Regions from separate parts of the Homo sapiens genome. Here regions 1, 3, 4, 5 and 6 are each linked to region 2. The links are contacts of gene promoters, found by promoter capture Hi-C in blood cells and fetal thymus (Javierre and others, 2016). All regions are on one chromosome and are shown on one strand. The core of a region is centred on a gene start or on the middle of the fragment in contact, and the rest is flanking DNA. Distances in the headings are between cores, read along the strand shown. Region 1 overlaps LOC105370601 (a long non-coding RNA gene). Region 2 holds the start of LINC01148 (long intergenic non-protein coding RNA 1148). Region 3 overlaps LOC107984704 (a long non-coding RNA gene). Region 4 overlaps LOC107984704 (a long non-coding RNA gene). Region 5 overlaps LINC02301 (long intergenic non-protein coding RNA 2301). Region 6 overlaps LOC107984704 (a long non-coding RNA gene).

Evidence for each region. Contacts are between HindIII fragments. The CHiCAGO score rates a contact against its expected background, and 5 or more counts as called.
Region 1: a fragment that was not itself captured here is called in contact with the fragment with the promoter of LINC01148 in region 2 in 2 of 17 cell types (M0 macrophages and M2 macrophages); the score reaches 10.3 in M0 macrophages.
Region 3: a contact is called between a fragment that was not itself captured here and the fragment with the promoter of LINC01148 in region 2, in 1 of 17 cell types (endothelial precursors). The highest score is 5.7, in endothelial precursors.
Region 4: a contact is called between a fragment that was not itself captured here and the fragment with the promoter of LINC01148 in region 2, in 3 of 17 cell types (total B cells, naive B cells and endothelial precursors). The highest score is 12.8, in total B cells.
Region 5: a fragment that was not itself captured here is called in contact with the fragment with the promoter of LINC01148 in region 2 in 7 of 17 cell types (total B cells, naive B cells, M0 macrophages and 4 more); the score reaches 14.9 in total B cells.
Region 6: a contact is called between a fragment that was not itself captured here and the fragment with the promoter of LINC01148 in region 2, in 14 of 17 cell types (naive B cells, non-activated CD4 T cells, endothelial precursors and 11 more). The highest score is 52.7, in naive B cells.

What each region holds. Positions count from the first base shown.
Region 1 is chr14:83,291,946-83,294,645 of GRCh38, reverse strand. All of the region lies in intron 3 of LOC105370601 (a long non-coding RNA gene), which reads right to left. Among named protein-coding and RNA genes, the nearest start is that of LINC02305, 620 kb to the left of the region's middle. The HindIII fragment of the contact is 5,486 bases long and covers 1-2,700 here.
Region 2 is chr14:86,904,482-86,907,181 of GRCh38, reverse strand. LINC01148 (long intergenic non-protein coding RNA 1148) reads right to left here and starts at 1,404. Exons shown (of 5, transcript NR_038445.1): 1 at 1,133-1,404. The HindIII fragment of the contact is 4,593 bases long and covers 1-2,700 here.
Region 3 is chr14:81,971,373-81,974,072 of GRCh38, reverse strand. The region is part of intron 3 of LOC107984704 (a long non-coding RNA gene); the gene reads right to left. Among named protein-coding and RNA genes, the nearest start is that of LINC02311, 230 kb to the right of the region's middle. The HindIII fragment of the contact is 378 bases long and covers 1,072-1,449 here.
Region 4 is chr14:82,008,506-82,011,205 of GRCh38, reverse strand. All of the region lies in intron 3 of LOC107984704 (a long non-coding RNA gene), which reads right to left. Among named protein-coding and RNA genes, the nearest start is that of LINC02311, 270 kb to the right of the region's middle. The HindIII fragment of the contact is 6,325 bases long and covers 1-2,700 here.
Region 5 is chr14:82,703,222-82,705,921 of GRCh38, reverse strand. All of the region lies in intron 5 of LINC02301 (long intergenic non-protein coding RNA 2301), which reads right to left. Among named protein-coding and RNA genes, the nearest start is that of LINC02301, 62 kb to the right of the region's middle. The HindIII fragment of the contact is 190 bases long and covers 1,315-1,504 here.
Region 6 is chr14:81,989,131-81,991,830 of GRCh38, reverse strand. The region is part of intron 3 of LOC107984704 (a long non-coding RNA gene); the gene reads right to left. Among named protein-coding and RNA genes, the nearest start is that of LINC02311, 250 kb to the right of the region's middle. The HindIII fragment of the contact is 624 bases long and covers 1,048-1,671 here.

The DNA of each region.
Region 1 (2,700 bases), core at 30-2,529, 3.6 Mb after region 2:
AACCTCTACTATGTGTCCTATGCACAGTAGATATAGCAGGGAAAAAGAAGACAAAGTGTTTGCCTTCATAAATTTATATTGCAGTGGGAAAAAGTAGAAAAGTTACATGAATTTAAAAATATATATTTTTTTATTTCCAGCTACAAAGAAATGAAACACATGAATGAAACAGCAAGTGACCAGTGACTAGATGGGTAGAGGACAACATTAGTGTGGTTATAGAAAATGTTGCTAAAGAAGTAAAACTTGAGCTGAGATCTAATTGATGAAAAGAAAACACCCATGCCACGATGCAAAATACGTGGCTTCTTAGAGGTGAAAGAAGAACCAACAAGTTCAAAAGCCCTTCAATAATAATACCTCTGCCACATTCAAGGGAAGAAAATAAAGAAAGAAAAGGAAAAAAAGAATGAGGAAAAGAAGGAAAGGAGGGAGGGAGGAAGAGAGAGAGGGAGGAAAGAAGGAAGGAAGGAAGGAAGGAAGGAAGGAAGGAAGGAAGGAAGGAAGGAAGGAAGGAAGGAAAAGAAAGAAAAAAGAGAGAGAAAGAAACAAAGAAGGATAGGAGAGGAGAGGCAGGGAGAGGAGGGGAGGAAAGCGAGAGGAAGGGAGGAAGGGGAGGGGAGAGGAGGAAGGGATGAAAGAGGGAAGGAAGGAAGGAAGGAAGGAAGGAGAGAAGGCCCAGTTTCTAGAACCAAGACCATGTGGATGAATTGTACGGACTCAGATCAGAGACTGGAAAGGGCAGATCACATAGGTTTTGTGGGTCATTGTAAAGTTTCAGGGTTTAGTTCACAGCATAATCGGAAGCCATTAGAAAGTTTTAAGCAAGGGAGTGCTAAGATTTGATTAGGATATGAAAAGATCATTTGGACGTAATTTGGAGAATTAATAGAAGATGCATGGCAAAAGAGGTAGGAGTGAAGATGAGGAGTTAACATTTATTCAAACAAGAAAAAAATAGGAAAATTTATTCCTAGCGTCCCCTGTCTTACTATACAATAGAGTTTGTGAATGAAAATTATTTCAAGAAATCCAGGGCAGTGTTTGCTACACAGCAAGAGTAGAGTTACCATGAGAATTAAGCTCCAGAATTCCCCATTTGCACAGTTCCTTCTAAGATTCTGAAGATTCTGAGGATGCAGAAATTGTGTATTCACAATTTTGTGTTCTTATTTAATTTTATGTAAAAGGGATTAGCAAAGTGGACAAGCTGCAGGCTCATTGACTTGGATCAGCCTTAATGTTAGGCCTGCTATCCAAAACCAAGATATTTTTGTCCTACAACATGCTCATTATACACTTTGAATCATATGTTATAGCCAATATCTTTTTCCTAGCTAGTTGTTTTCCTCAATTGTATCTTCAAGGGTATGTGCTCCTTGAAATAATATTCTGTGTACGTTTTCTAATTTGTTAGCTCACACAGAGGTCTAACTCAAAGTGTGTCTATTTAAATGAATAAAAGATTATCAACTGAGGTGTATGGCTGAAACTTCAAGGACAGGTCATAGGTTAGGTTACAAAACAAGTCTTAAAACATTCAAAAAACTTGAGATAATATAAGCATCTTTTCAGACCACAATGGAATAAAACTATAAATTAATAATGAGGAATTTTTGAACTACAAAAATACATGGAAATTAAATAATATACTCCTGAACGACCAGTGAGTCAATGAAGAAATTAAGAAGGAATTGAAAAAATTATTGAAACAAATGATAATGGAAACAAAACATACCTAAATCTATGGGATACAGCAAAACTAGTACTATGAGGGAAGTTTATATGTGCATACATCAAAAAAGAAGAGACACTTAAAAAAAATCTAATGATGCATCTTAAAGAACTAGAAAAGCAAGAGAAAACCAAACCCAAAATAAGTAGAAAATAAATAATAAAAATCAGAGCAAAAAAGAAATTAAATTGAGATGAAGAAAACAATAAAAAAGATCAATGAAAGAGAAGTTAGTTTTTTAAAAAGTTAAACAAAATTGACAAACCTTTTGTCAGACTAAGAAAAAAGAGAAGATACAAATAAATCAGAAATGAAAAAGGAGACATTATAACTAATACTGCAGTAATTCACATGATTATTAGCGGTCACTATGAGCAACTACATGCCAATAAATTGGAAAATCTAGAAGAAATGAACAAATTCCTAAATACATACAACCTACCAAAATTGAACCCTGAAGACATCCAAAACCTGAATTGATCAGTAACAAGTAGCAAGATGGAAGCCATAATAAAAAGTCTCCCAATAAAGGGCTCAGGACCTGGTGGCTTCCCTGTAAAAGCCAGGGACATGGTGGCTTCCCTGAATTCTACCAAACATATAAAGAAGAACTAATACTAATCCTATTCAAACTATTCCAAAAAACAGAGGAGAAGGGAATACTTGAATACTTCTAAACTCATTCTATGAGGCCAGTATTACCCTGATATAAATACCAAACAAAGACACATCAAAAAAAAGAAAACTACAGGCCAATATCTTTGTTAAATAGTGATGCACCAAAATGATGGGAGTCATTAGAGAGGGTTCTCTGCTTCCCTGCAAAAGGCCTTTTCTAGCATTTTTATTATCATTATCACCACCCTTTATATATGGATGGAAATTTGTGATTGGCAGCACGTTTCAGAAGTAAATTAAGTAATTTGTTTCTCAACAAATCTGTAATGCAGAGATAACTTCTCCAT
Region 2 (2,700 bases), core at 155-2,654:
TGAGTTTCTAGCCCTTTAATATACATAGGGTTAAACTATAAAAGCGCTGAGATAAATCTTTGCATGTGCTACAAGGTATAATAATTATGACTGGCTTAAACTATAGACTCATTTGATGTGATCAAGTGATGCCCACGTCTTATAATTGAGGGACATTATTTGCCAAAAACCCCTTCTCAACATGTGCTCCATAATGCACCTGAAGTACCTTCATTATCATAACATGACTTTATGTTTAGCATTACCCTCTTTTCTGGAGTCTTCTTTTAAAATGTTGATATTTCAACAATTAGATAACCTCCCTTCTTGACAGGATATTCCTGACCAATATAGGAAGAAAATAAATTATTTTGTTATGAAAGACAGAAGACAACAATAGCAAACTGCATACTCTACCACTGTATTTAGAATCAGTCTCAAATTTAGCTGGACTTCACATTCATGGATTCAGCTTTACAGGTTATGTAATATTTTGAGATATAAATTCACATTGGAAGACTTGTCATGAATAGACCAAGAATCCTTAATTCAAAGCATCATTTAGAAATGTTAATTTTTGTCAATCAATACTAAATAATCTTCTGGGGTTTCCCTCGGTGATATCCTAACACTCAGTGGATGTCATTTTTATTTTATTTTTAATATCAGTATCATCTATATTCCTCTTTTTTTGGTTCTATTCAACAAACTTTTACTGATCACCTACTATAAGCCAGGTTATCTCTAGATACTTGGATTACAAATATAGATATGTTGTTTCTTCCACCTTGAAGAATTTCAATTTTCTAAGAGGGGGCAATCAGGGGACACAAAATTACATAGACTTCCTAAATGACCATACTTTAAGAGTAAGAGGCACAAAACAAACCAACCAACCAACCACCACCAACAACAAAAAACAAAAACAAAAACAAACACCCATAATTTATAAAGGGTATAGTATTTGGGGAGGGGGTGAAATTGACACTAAAACTTTCTGTGTAAACGGAAAAATGTTGTTTTTAAAACTGTTTTAAAATAGTTTCTGTCTCTTTAGAGGTCGATTTATCTTGGGCAAGCAATAAATACTTTTGCTCTCAGAAAACCGCCAAAACTTATTTTCTTATTAGCTGAGTAGAAAACAAGTACTCACCATTGTGGCTATGGAAGACATAAGCAGGCCAAAGGCATCATTCACCTAAGTAGAGACGAGGTGACAGCGTGCTGTCAGTCCTCACAGCCCTCGCTCCCTCTTGGCGCCTCCTCGGCCTTGGCGCCCACTCTGGCCACGCTTGAGGAGCCCTTCAGCCCGCCGCTGCACTGTGGGAGCCCCTTCCTGGGATGGCCGAGACCGGAGCCGGCTCCCTCAGCCTGCAGGGAGGTGTGGAGGGAGAGGCACGGGCGGGAACCGGGGCTGCGTGCTGCGCTTGCGGGCCAGCTAGAGTTCCGGGTGGGCGTGGGCTTGGCGGGCCGCGCACTCGGAGCGGCCAGCCGGCCCTGCCGGCCCCTGGTAGTGAGGGGCTTAGCATCCTGGCCAGCAGCTGTGGAGGGTGCGCCGGTTCCCCCAGCAATGCTGGCCCACCGGCGCTGCGCTCGATTTCTCGCTGGGCCTTAGCTGCTCCCCCGCGGGGCAGGGCTTGGGACCTGTAGCCTGCCATGCCTGAGTCTCCCCGCCCCGACGACGCCGTGGGCTCCTGCGCGGCCTGAGTCTCCCGGACGAACGCCGCCTCCTGCTCCAAGGCGCCTGGTCCCATCAACCGCCCAAGGGCTGAGGAGTGCGGGCGCACGGCGCGGGGCTGGTAAGCACCTCCACCTGGGGCCCCAGTGGGAGATCCACCAGGTGAAGCCAGCTGGGCTCCTGAGTCAAGTGGGGACTTGAGAATCTTTATGTCTAGTTAAGGGATTGTGAATACACCAATTGGCACTCTGTATCTAGCTCAAGGTTTGTAAATGCACCAATCAGCACTTTGTGTCTAGCTGAGGGTTTGTAAATACACCAGTCAGCACTCTGTATCTAGCTAATCTAGTGGGGACGTGGAGAACTTTTGTGTCTAGCTCAGGGATTGTAAATGCACCAATCAGCACCCTGTCAAAACGGACCAATCAGCTCTCTGTAAAACAGACCAATCGGCTCTCTGTAAAATGGACCAATCAGCAGGATGTGGATGAGGCCAGATAAGAGAATAAAAGCAGGCTGCCTGACCTAGCAGTGGCAACCGTTGGGGTCTCCTTCTGCATTGTGGGAGCGTTGTTCTCTCACTCTGCAGTAAATCTTGCTGCTGCTCATTCTTTGGGTCCACACTGCCTTTATGAGCTGGAACACTCACTGCGAAGGTCTGCAGTTTCACTCCTGAAGCCACCGAGACCACAAACCCACCGGGAGAAAGGAACAACTCCAGACGCGCCGTCTTAAGAGTTGTAACACACACTGGGAAGGTGTGCAGCTTCACTCCTGAGCCGGGGAGACCACGAACCCACCAGAAGGAAGAAACTCCGAACACATCCGAACTTCAGAAGGAACAAACTCTGGACACGCCGTCTTTAAGAACTGTAACACTCACCGCAAGGGTGGTGGCTTCACTCTTGAAGTCAGACCAAGAACCAACCAATTCCAGACACAGAGATATGTTTGCCATACAAATTATTGTTCTGCCGGGTAAATGAAGTTGCATGTATCTTTCAATATAAAATAAGTGCAAATTTTATATGCCTGTTTGGGAA
Region 3 (2,700 bases), core at 11-2,510, 4.9 Mb after region 2:
GCTCACTTTGGAAGGCATAAAGAACCTGTCTTCCCCTGAAGCAACTGATTCTACTTCCTTAAAGAGATCAATGACCTAGCTCACTCATCTATCTGAGGGCTCCCTCCCTAAATCTGATCTTCTTCCATCTGCTTTGAAAGTGGGTTAAGCCCTCTGGGTCATGTAAAGTCTGCAGCATAACCTGAAAACAACTTGATATAAGCCCAGCACCAAAAAGTCCTCATGACTACCCTGTTTGGTTCCCCCAAAGCACTACTGTCCATATGGAGAGGTATTTTATAACCCTTCATGGCTTTTTACTTCTTTCCAGTATTAAAGTATATAAGCAACTAAAAGGGATGATTTCTCAGCTGCAATAGCTCATTTGAAATTCACTCCATAATTAACAACTTTGAAAGCAAAGAGGTAAATTTTGTCACATGTATTATTAAAGCAGAGTGAAGTCCCCCAGGACCAAATTAGATGCTTGATTAAAAATGTCCGTGGTAAAAGAAACAAGTAGATAGGGATTTGTGCTCTCAGCAATCCCAAATTAGCACACTGATTGAAGCACCTGTTCAAGCCATGTGGAAAGACACAGATCTTGGGACTGCCCTGGTGAATGAGGACTCAAGTTTCCCAACTTGAATGCAGGTCAGCTAGAATGCAAATGGGGTCATCTGAAACTAGAGGAGATAAGCGAATGAGAGGAGGGACCCAATGGGCAGGTAATCATGGTGTAATGAAAAAAGTAATGAGTGGAAATTCGTAAACCTGGATTCATTCATTCTTTAACAATTCCATTTTATTTCCAAGTACTGTGCTACATGATAGGTTGTAGGCTTCTGTTTTGTTCCCTGCCACTCCTGATCTTGGCCATGACTCCTGCTGCCTCTACACCTCCATTTCCACTTGTGTAAATTAACAGGGTGGAAAGAAATGATTATTAAAGGAACGCACACAATTTTAGGAAAAGAATGCAAGTTAAAACTTTAATTTTTTAATTTTATTTGGAGATACAGTATATTTTCCTTTAACTACATTCAACTGGATTTTGTCAAGACTTTTTAAACTCTAATCCCCTGACAAGCTTCTAAAATTGTTCACAATTGTCTCCAAGTAGTGCTACACAGTCATGGGTAGAAAGTCAAACTTCACCAAGGCAGACAGGACTGCCACTTTGGCAGGGGAATAATCCTACAACTCCGATGCCTCAGAAAGATGAGGACGACAAAACACCTTCTTAACTTGTTGGTAATTATGGCAGGCAAGAGAGAATTTAATGAGCTTGGCAAAATAGCTCAGTGGCACTCTGCCTAGTCTCAGCTCTGTGCATCCCATATCCAGGGAGAGTCCTTTGTTGAAACAGACCTGATTCTCTTGAGTTACTTTTGCCCTTTCTGTTTTTCTCCTAAAGCAATATGTTTGGTTGACAGAAAAATTCTTCCCTACAAAGGCACCTACCAAGCTTACACATAATACAAATTCAATTAAATTTTTTAAAGCTATAAGAAAACACGCTAACGTAGTAATCCCACAGACTGTACCTTAATGATCATGCCGACCGTGGCCAAGTTAAAACTGTTGTGGGAATCATAATTTGGAATTTCCTGCTCCATTTAAAGTCTCCAGGGTCAAATTGCCATAAAGATCTTTCTTATATTGAAATTCCATCTTTCCAGAAAGTAAAGAACAACCTACCTTTATATCCAAAGGAAATCAAATCCAAGAGAAGAATTAGAAAGTGACCTTGGATATGTCATTTCACCCTTCCGAAGCTCATCAATGAAATGAAGGTTGTTGGATCTCTTAGTCCCTTGCCAGCACTAACATCATGTGATTCTGCTGTACAGGTGCTACCCAGTAATTGAGGGTTATATAAATCACACAGGAGTAAGAAAGAACACTAGACCACTAAGAAAGGCAGTTAGAAGCATACAGCTCAGATCCCCTTCAAAACGTCAGCCAACAGGCTTTTTTTCCTTGGCTTACTGCCTTTTTAGCTGTCAACACCTTATACTGCCTCTTCCACAGGATTTTTTAAATGAATAAAATAAAAATGCTTTAAAATGATCTAAACTCTAAAGGATGACTTCAGGCTAAGAAGGTTAAAAACTGCTGGTGAATAAAAGGTTAAGATGACCATTCATTGAAGAATGTGGTTTCCGTGGTTATTTTGTATTATACACTGAAGACATTTTTCCTAAAGTTCTTATCTCAAGATATGGCACATTCCAGGCTCTATCCTCACATGACAACCTATATTTTACAGAATCCTTAATTAGTGAGTGAAGCCCTATGACATATTGTAAGGTTTTGATGACACAGAATGTACAAGTAAAAGCCTTTCTCAGTGACAAGGGAGAAGGTCTACTTATGAGTTGCATTTGAATTAGCATATTTTTTCTCATTCTTGAAAACAACTTTTGTCCATGTGATTAAAATCTAGCTACCACATTAAAGAAGAAGAAAAAGAAGGAAGGAATGAGAATGAAGAAGAGGAAGAGGAGGTGAAGGGAATGAAAGGGAAGGGAAGGATGTAGAACATAAGAGTTGGTATAAGGCTGTGGGAATGAAGAGAAGTGAGGAATACAGGGACCCAGTTTTGCACTAATTAGTTTTGTGCTTGATCTTAAATAAATCAGTAGATTTCTCTGATCCTAGATCCTTCATCTATAGAATGATTTGGCTGAATTATTAATGATTATTAATGGTGTTTAC
Region 4 (2,700 bases), core at 181-2,680, 4.9 Mb after region 2:
CTGTGCCCTGCTCACTCCTCAGCCCTGCAGACAGCAGCAGCTGCAGCTGCATAGGAAAGGATGCTGAGCCTTGGGGGGTAGGCACCAAGGATTGCATTTTGCTGTAGCTCCCCAGAACACTGAAGCCTTTGGGGTTTCATGCAAGTTCAAGCAGTGCCTCTGCATGGTCTCTGGGCAGCTCCTTCTGCCAGTCCAAAGGTCTGTGGGGGTCGTGGAACTCTCTTGTAGCTAGGATCCCAGGGGCCAGCAGCAGGAATGTGGTATCCTGGGGTTCCTTCACTTACCCCTTCCTTGGGCCTGGGTCTGGGTCTGAGGGCTGGTCCCGGCACCCAGCGATGTTAAGTAGGCAGCCCTGTTTTTTCCTTCTTCAATCACAGTGTCTTCCATCACCTCCCTATTGAATTTCAGTGTTCCCTCTCAAAAGATGTGTTTGAAGTATGTTTTACTCAATGTTTTGGCTCCTCTTTATGGAAGAGGTGCATCCCAGCTACATCTAATCAACTACCTTGAACCTCTCCATAAAGTATTTTGTTCTAAAATATAAAATGAAATTCCAAAATAATTTAATCTTTAATAGCTACCACGACTTCTGCAAGACATTTCGGACATCATTGGAGATAAAGGATATATTTTGAGACAGGAAGATGAACTTAGAGCTCTGAAAATCATGTTAAGCATTTGTTTGCCCCTTTATTTAAAGTTGTCCCTGACATCTATAATTTCCTAGCAGTCAAATAATCAAAACTATTTTTTAAGAATGCAGTTCTCTCAAGTAGAGATTATTGGTAAGATCCCTTTGAGGTATAAATGAAACATTTTAAATACAGGTAATCTATTTAAGAAAATACAGCATAAAGATTTCATTCAAGAGATGCTAAATCCTCTCTGATTCTAAGGAAATAAGAGATCTCTTTTAGCTGGACTGGTAAGGAAAGGCTTTATGGGAGAGGTGCCAATTAGCTTGAACTGTGAACTATGTTACGTAAGACATTTATTGGTAGGTAAATGAGGGAAAGGTTAAACATTAAAGTTCTGTGTAGGGTAAAGATAACCCATGAAGCATTTGGACTACAGTGAGGAAAGAAGTTTAAATGAGACAATGTATTCCTGTAAAGAAGTAATAAATGATGGAATGAGAAAGGATAGACTGAACCCAGAGAGTAAAGTATCTTAAATGCCAAATCAAAAACTTTGAACTTTATCCCGAAGGCAGGCAATGAAATGTCATTGAAATCTGATTAACAGGAGAATCACAGTAAAAATTTATATCAGTTTCTGTACTTAGTCATAACCAGTTAACCACTTCTCAAGTCAGTTAAAATTTGAAACTGAGAACATAATGTAATTCAGTAAACAAAAATGATACCCATGCTTTCTTTCTATAGCTCAGAAATTCATAGTATTTCTTACCATTGGAGCTAATGTGACTAAAGGTAAGACATTCACATTTGGCGTTAGGAGTCCTGGGTCCTCAGGCTCTGAAACTGCCATTAGGATCTAATGTCACTGGTTAAATCACTGATTTGCTTGACACTTCATAATCTTATCTGTCAATGAGTGATGATGGTAATATCTGCTGTACAGACCACACAGTATTGCGGAAAAATTAAGTGATCATTGCAAACAACCTAATTTTTTGAGAGGCTTTATTCATCAAAAGAATTTTTTATGGATTAAAAAATGGTTTCAATTTAACTGACAAAAAATAAAATGAGTTGAGTTATTAAAGTCCAAGAAATATGTACAAGTCAGCAAGTACCTGGTGCAGAAGCAAAGAAGAAAACTTGGAATGTTTGCACTCTGACTCCAAGAGGACAGGGTCAGTAATCCAGTTGGAGTTTGACCTAATTGAGCAGAGGGTCCAGCAACGTTTGAACTGTGGCCTGAGCATAGACTGTGTTAATAATATTATAATGAGAAAAAGGCTCATGCAAATGAGCTGAGGAGTAATCAGATGTAGAACAACTAATGGTTCAGCTACTGCCCCCTAGGGGAAAAAAATGGGTGCAATGCTACAAGAAAACAAAAACCTCAGGGATCAAAGTGAATGAGTCAATATAAACGCCAAAGAAATGATTTATGGCACAACCACAAAATGGGATACCACGAAATATTGTGAACATGAAGAAAAGTTACTGATATTATTTGCTATATTATTAAAGAAACATGAACAGCATCACACATACACACACGTACATATACAGGGAGAAAACAAACAAAATATGCACCCAGATATCTATTTTTTAAAGAATCTTGAAGAAAGTTATCTCTGGATGTTGAAATTTAAGGTTGTTTATTTGTATTTTATTGGTAATTCCTCCAAATTGGAAAGGTGTTATATATATATATATATACAATAAAATTATGCTTTTTAATTGAATAATATGCTACATATTAAAAGAAGTGGTAAAGTACTAGTCAGATGAGTTATTATTCTTAATTATGATTAATTAATAGTTAACTTTTTCTATCCAGCTGCTTCTATGATTTCAACATAAATCATATCAGTGGGAAGCAGCTCATATGGCCTTAGGAATACAGAACTGGGGGTCAAATATTAGCTTCCCTTCTTGGTAGCTGAATGACCTTGGGCAAACTAATTAACCTTGGTATGTCTTTGATATTTTAAAGGTAAGATACACATAATGATACCTGCACCAAGATTGTTCTCAGCATTAAATAAATTGGCAAGAGTACGGT
Region 5 (2,700 bases), core at 160-2,659, 4.2 Mb after region 2:
CAGGCTCAGTGTTTTGTGCTTTTCTCTTTTGCACATGCTCCACTCTTATTCCATAGGATGATAAACATAAACCCTAACGTCACCCCAGAGCTGTGGATGGCAGCTCAGGAGTGCCAAGCCGTAATCTACAGCCAGCAGTCAAGTGGGAGAAGAGCCCACACTTGCAGAGCATTGAGAGGGAACATGACTGCAACTGTGAAGAAATATATGAGAGCCACACGACTGAGCAAGAGCCAACTACCTGGCCACTATGCCTAAGTGCTACTTACTGGATCATACCTCTGAGCTTTAAGTCCAAAAATACCTCACTAATATAACCTGTGAAACCAAAGACAAGAAGTCAGCTATAAATAAAAACACTGCACAAAGGCTCAGCTACGTGAAAACATCCAGAAAAGAAGTCTGTTAACTGTACTTAATCTACATCACAGTTAAAGGAACACCTACATGTAGATATGAAAAAGAACTAACTCAAGAACTCTGGCAACTCCAAGGACCAGAGTGGCTTATGTCCTCCAAATCATTGTACCAGTACTCCAACAAGAGTTCTTAGGTTAAGCTGGCTGAAATGACAAGAATAGAATTCAGAATATGGAATGAAAATCATTAGGATTCAAGAGAACATCAAAACCCAATCTAAGGAACCTAAGAATCACAATAAAATAATACAGGAGCTGACAGATGAAGTAGCCAGGATGAAAAAAGAACCTAACTGATCTGATAAAGCTGAAAAACACACTACAGGATTTTCATAATGCAATTGCAAGTTTTAACAGCAGAATAGGCCAAGCTAAGGTAAGACTCTGATCTTAAAGACTGATTCTCTGAAATAAAACAGTCAGGAAAAAAAAAAAAAAAGAAAAGGAAAGGAAAAAGAGAAGGAAAAAACATATCCTCTGAGAAATATGGGATCATGTAAAGAGGGAAAAGGTACAAATCACTGGCATCCCCAAAAGGGATAGGCAAAAATCAAACGACATGGAAAACATATTTTAGGATATCATTTATAAAAACTTCCTGAACCTCACTATAGAGGCCGATAGTCAAATTCAGGAAATGCAAGGAACTCCTGCAAGATTCTACGTAAGATTACCCCAAGACACATGATCATCAGATTTTCCAAGGTTGAAATGAAAAAGAGAATGTTAAAGGCAGCTAGAGAGAAAGGGCAGGTTACCTGAAGAGGAACCCCATCAGGCTAACAAAAAACCTCTCAGCAGAAACCCTCCAAGTCAAGAGAGATTGGGGGCCTATACTCAACATTCTTAGAGAAAAATTTTCAACTAAGAATTTCATATACAACTAAATGAAGCTTTCTACATGAAAAAAAAATAAGACTGTTTTCAGATAAGCAAATTCTTAGGGAACTCATTACAACCAGACCCATTTTACAAAAGATCTTGAAATGAGCACTAAATATGGAAAGAAACGACTAACTAGCCAATAGAAAAAACAGTTAAATACACAGACCAGTGATACTATGAAGCAACTACGCAAACAAGCTTGCATAATAACCAGCTAAAAATGCAATCACAGGATTAAATCCACACATATCAACACTAACCTTGAATGTAAATGAGCTAAATGCTCTATTTAAACAGCAAAGAGCGGCAATCTGAACAAAACGAAAGACCCAATGATATGCAGTCATCAAAAGACCCATCTTACATGCAGTGACACCAATACACTCAAAATAAAGGGATGGAGGAAAATCTACCAAGCAAATGAAGAAAACAGAAAAAAAAAACAGGGGTTGCAACCCTAATTTCAGACAAAACAGACTTTAAACCAACTAAGATCAAAAAAGACACAGAAGGCCATTACATAATGGTAAAAGGTTCAATTCAATGAGAAGACCTAACTACCCTACATATACAGCACTCAACACAGGAGAACCTAGATTTATAAAGCAAGATCTAAAAGGAGACTTAGACTCCCACACAGTGATAGTGGGAGACTTCAATGCTCCACTGACAGTATCAGACAGATCACTGCAGCAGAAAATTAACAAAGATATTCAGGACCTTAACTAAACATTGGACCAAATGGCTCTAACAGACCTCTGCAGAACACTCCACTCCCAAAACAACAAAATAGACATTCTTCTCATTGCCACATAGCACATACTGTAAAATCAAGAACACGGTCAGAAATGAAACAATCCTCAGCAAGTGCAAAAGAACCAAAATTATATCAAACACACTCTCAGACCACAGCACAATAAAAACAGAAGTCAAGACTAGGAAAATCACTCAAAACCATACGACCACATGGATATTAAACAATGTGCTCCTGAATGACTTCTTGGAAAATAATGAAATAAATGCAGAAATCAAGAGGCTATTTGAAACTAACGAGAACAAAGATACAACATACCAATGTATCTGAAACACGGCTAAGGCAGTGCACAGAGGGAAATTTATGGCAATAAATGCCCACATCAAAAAATTAGAAAGATCACAAATTGGCAGCCTAACATCACAACTGAAAGAATTAGAGAAGCAAGAGCAAATCAACCCCAAATCTAGCAGAAGACAACAAATAATAAATATCAGAACTGAACTGAAGGAAATTGAGACACAAAAAAACCATTCAAATGATCAATATTTCACTGGTTTTTTGAAAGAAATTAATGAAATAGTCCACTAGCTAGACTAATAAAAATAGAGAGAGAAGATCCAAACAAACACAGTTTGAAAC
Region 6 (2,700 bases), core at 110-2,609, 4.9 Mb after region 2:
TTACCTAATTTTTGAGGCATTCCTCAACACCATCTTCCTTGTTTTCAGATCCTAGACAGTTTTCCATGGATCAAGTGCAAAAAATGATAGTATCTTTTTTTTATTCCTTCAGAGGCTTTGTTTTTCATATTTTGCTTCTTCCTCATGGTATCATTCTTCTCCTTCTTTTCCAACAGTGCTCACTTATGGATGATGAACTTTTGGCAAGGATGAACTAAAGCCACTTCTTAGTAGTAAAAATCAGACCACTCTTCTCCACGGCAAATTCTCTCATCCTTCGTAACATTTTCATCTCAGCATCTTTCAAGTGTCTTCCCCTCTTAAGATGAATATCAGTAACTCTAGGGTTGAGTGGAAAGAAACTAACAGAATCACAGACACTTAAAACTGGAGTCATCTTAGCTATCACCAGTCTCCTCTCTTTCAATTCACATTCAGTTATCAGCGAATTTTTAGCATATAACTAAGCTAGAAGTTTATTGCATTGATGCATTTAATTTTATATAATCCTCACAACAATTCCATAAGCTACGCTTATCCTCATTTTAGGGAAAAATGAAACAAAGGCTAGGAGAGGTTATTTGCTTGTCAAATAGTTAGGCAGTAGCAACACTGTGCCTATACTAACGGTTCCTCTCTTCCAGGTCAGGAAACCAATTTGTTTTAAATTCAGGCCAATCACTGTACATTATCCATAATATCCAAAGCATGTTGCCCAGATGAACTAGCCAGCAACAGGCTGAAAATCAAATAAATACTAACGTAAAATGCTAAATGCCAAGGGTAACAGCCTTCAAAAAGAAAATTCCAATTAAATAACAACAAAAAAACCCTCTTTTGTTGTATATGGTTTACATTATGCTGTAGCTACATTTCTAACAGTGAAGACTGGTGAAAAATGTTTCTCCTCAGATATTCTTAAAAGAGAATTCACCCAAAGTTGCATTTTGCTTGTTTCACTGGTAGGAAGGATGAGATAGAGAAGAGAGACTGATAAATTATTTATGAACAAGACTGCTTCACTGATCAGATTTGGTGATGAAAGCTTCTTTGAAAACCCATGAGGAACATTCTTAACGGAAATTATATGCACTTCTCTTGGGTTGTCACTTTTTTTTTTCCCCTGCTATTAGTTTGATTTTGGCTTCGCAGTCACCACTGTGCAGAAATGTAACAGCAAACACAATGAAAAGCCTTTCCACATGATTATTTTCGAAAGTAATAAGACATGTGTGACCTGGAAAATCAGCCCTTCCGACGTGTCAGGTAAGGAGGTAGATTATTATATTTTTAAAAGCTGCCTTTATCTTTGCATTGTGCAGGAACTCAGAGGCAAACTTTTAGGAGCTAAGGATGGACTTTTGCTGCCATCTACTGGTGTGTGATGGAAGAGCAACATATGCTTCTGAACTTTCTCAAATGGCGATGAGAGAATTCAAAGTTGGGAGATGAGGGAAAGCGTTCTTTTGATTAGGTATGAAAGTCCTTGTAGAGAGGAATTTCTACAGCCAGTCATGGGACCATAGGTACCTTCTGCTAGAGAATTTTTAATAGCAACCCTCACCTATAATCTAATTATTTTACCCATGAGAAGGGCAGTCACTTTCCCCTCATTTCTTCAACCACAGTAAATCTGAGCATCTCTATATTCATATTCATTCCCTTGAAGCTTAAAACTGAAAAGGAATAGCATAACCATTTGGTTACTCATATAAGCTTTTGTTGTCAGAACAAGCTCTGAACAATTATAAGCTGCCTGGAAATTCAGGAGTTATGTCACATCTTTAAATATTATTTTTCTTAATACAGAAAATGGGCAACACTTCAGTGCCATTGTTCATCCATTCATTCCATGTACACTTACTGAGATGCTTGGCATGAGGATTAAATGTGGTCATACACATAAAGTTCCCTGCAAATACCTGACACACATAAGCTCCCAATAAAGGCCAATCTTCACCTCTTAACATCATCACCCCTAACTTCTCTTCATGGTAAAGTGACTAATGATTTCAAATTTGTAATATTGAAGGGAAGAAACTACCCAGAATGAGCTCATTGGATCATAAGTTTCCCTGAGAAGTTAGAAATCTACTTTCTGTGCCTCAAGGAAGGCTGTAACAAGAAGAAAGGATGGTGACGCCAAAAGAGAAAGACAAGTATGTTGATCAGAAGATTTCTGCATTGAGTCTATACGAATGGTAGGATATATCTGAATTCCCATCCAGTTATCACAATAGTCTCAAAGAAGGTGAAATGATTCGATAAGACTTGGAAGTTTAAAAGAATGAATGTACGTGGAAGATAAAAATTATTATACTCAGGTTATTTCACTTTGGTTATACATATTTGTTTTATGAGCAGCACTTTCAATTTGGCCAGATATGTAGATTCAGGAAAAATGGGAAGTTATGCTCTTGGGAGGGGGAGCAAGAAGGAAGTAGAAACAGAACCACTTCCTAATGAATTTCAACAGGCGAAATATGTAAGTATGTGAGATTTTTAAAGCACTTACTTTATAATAGCCTTATAATCATCACTATTAAAAAGATTTAGGAAAATAATCATGCCATACTCATAAGACTTCCTCCAACAGGTCCATTATATGCCTACACTGTACTGTAGTCCGTTAAGTGTGCAATGGCAATAAGTCTGAGAATAACAACGTACATACCTTACTTTTAAAATGCTTTATTGCTA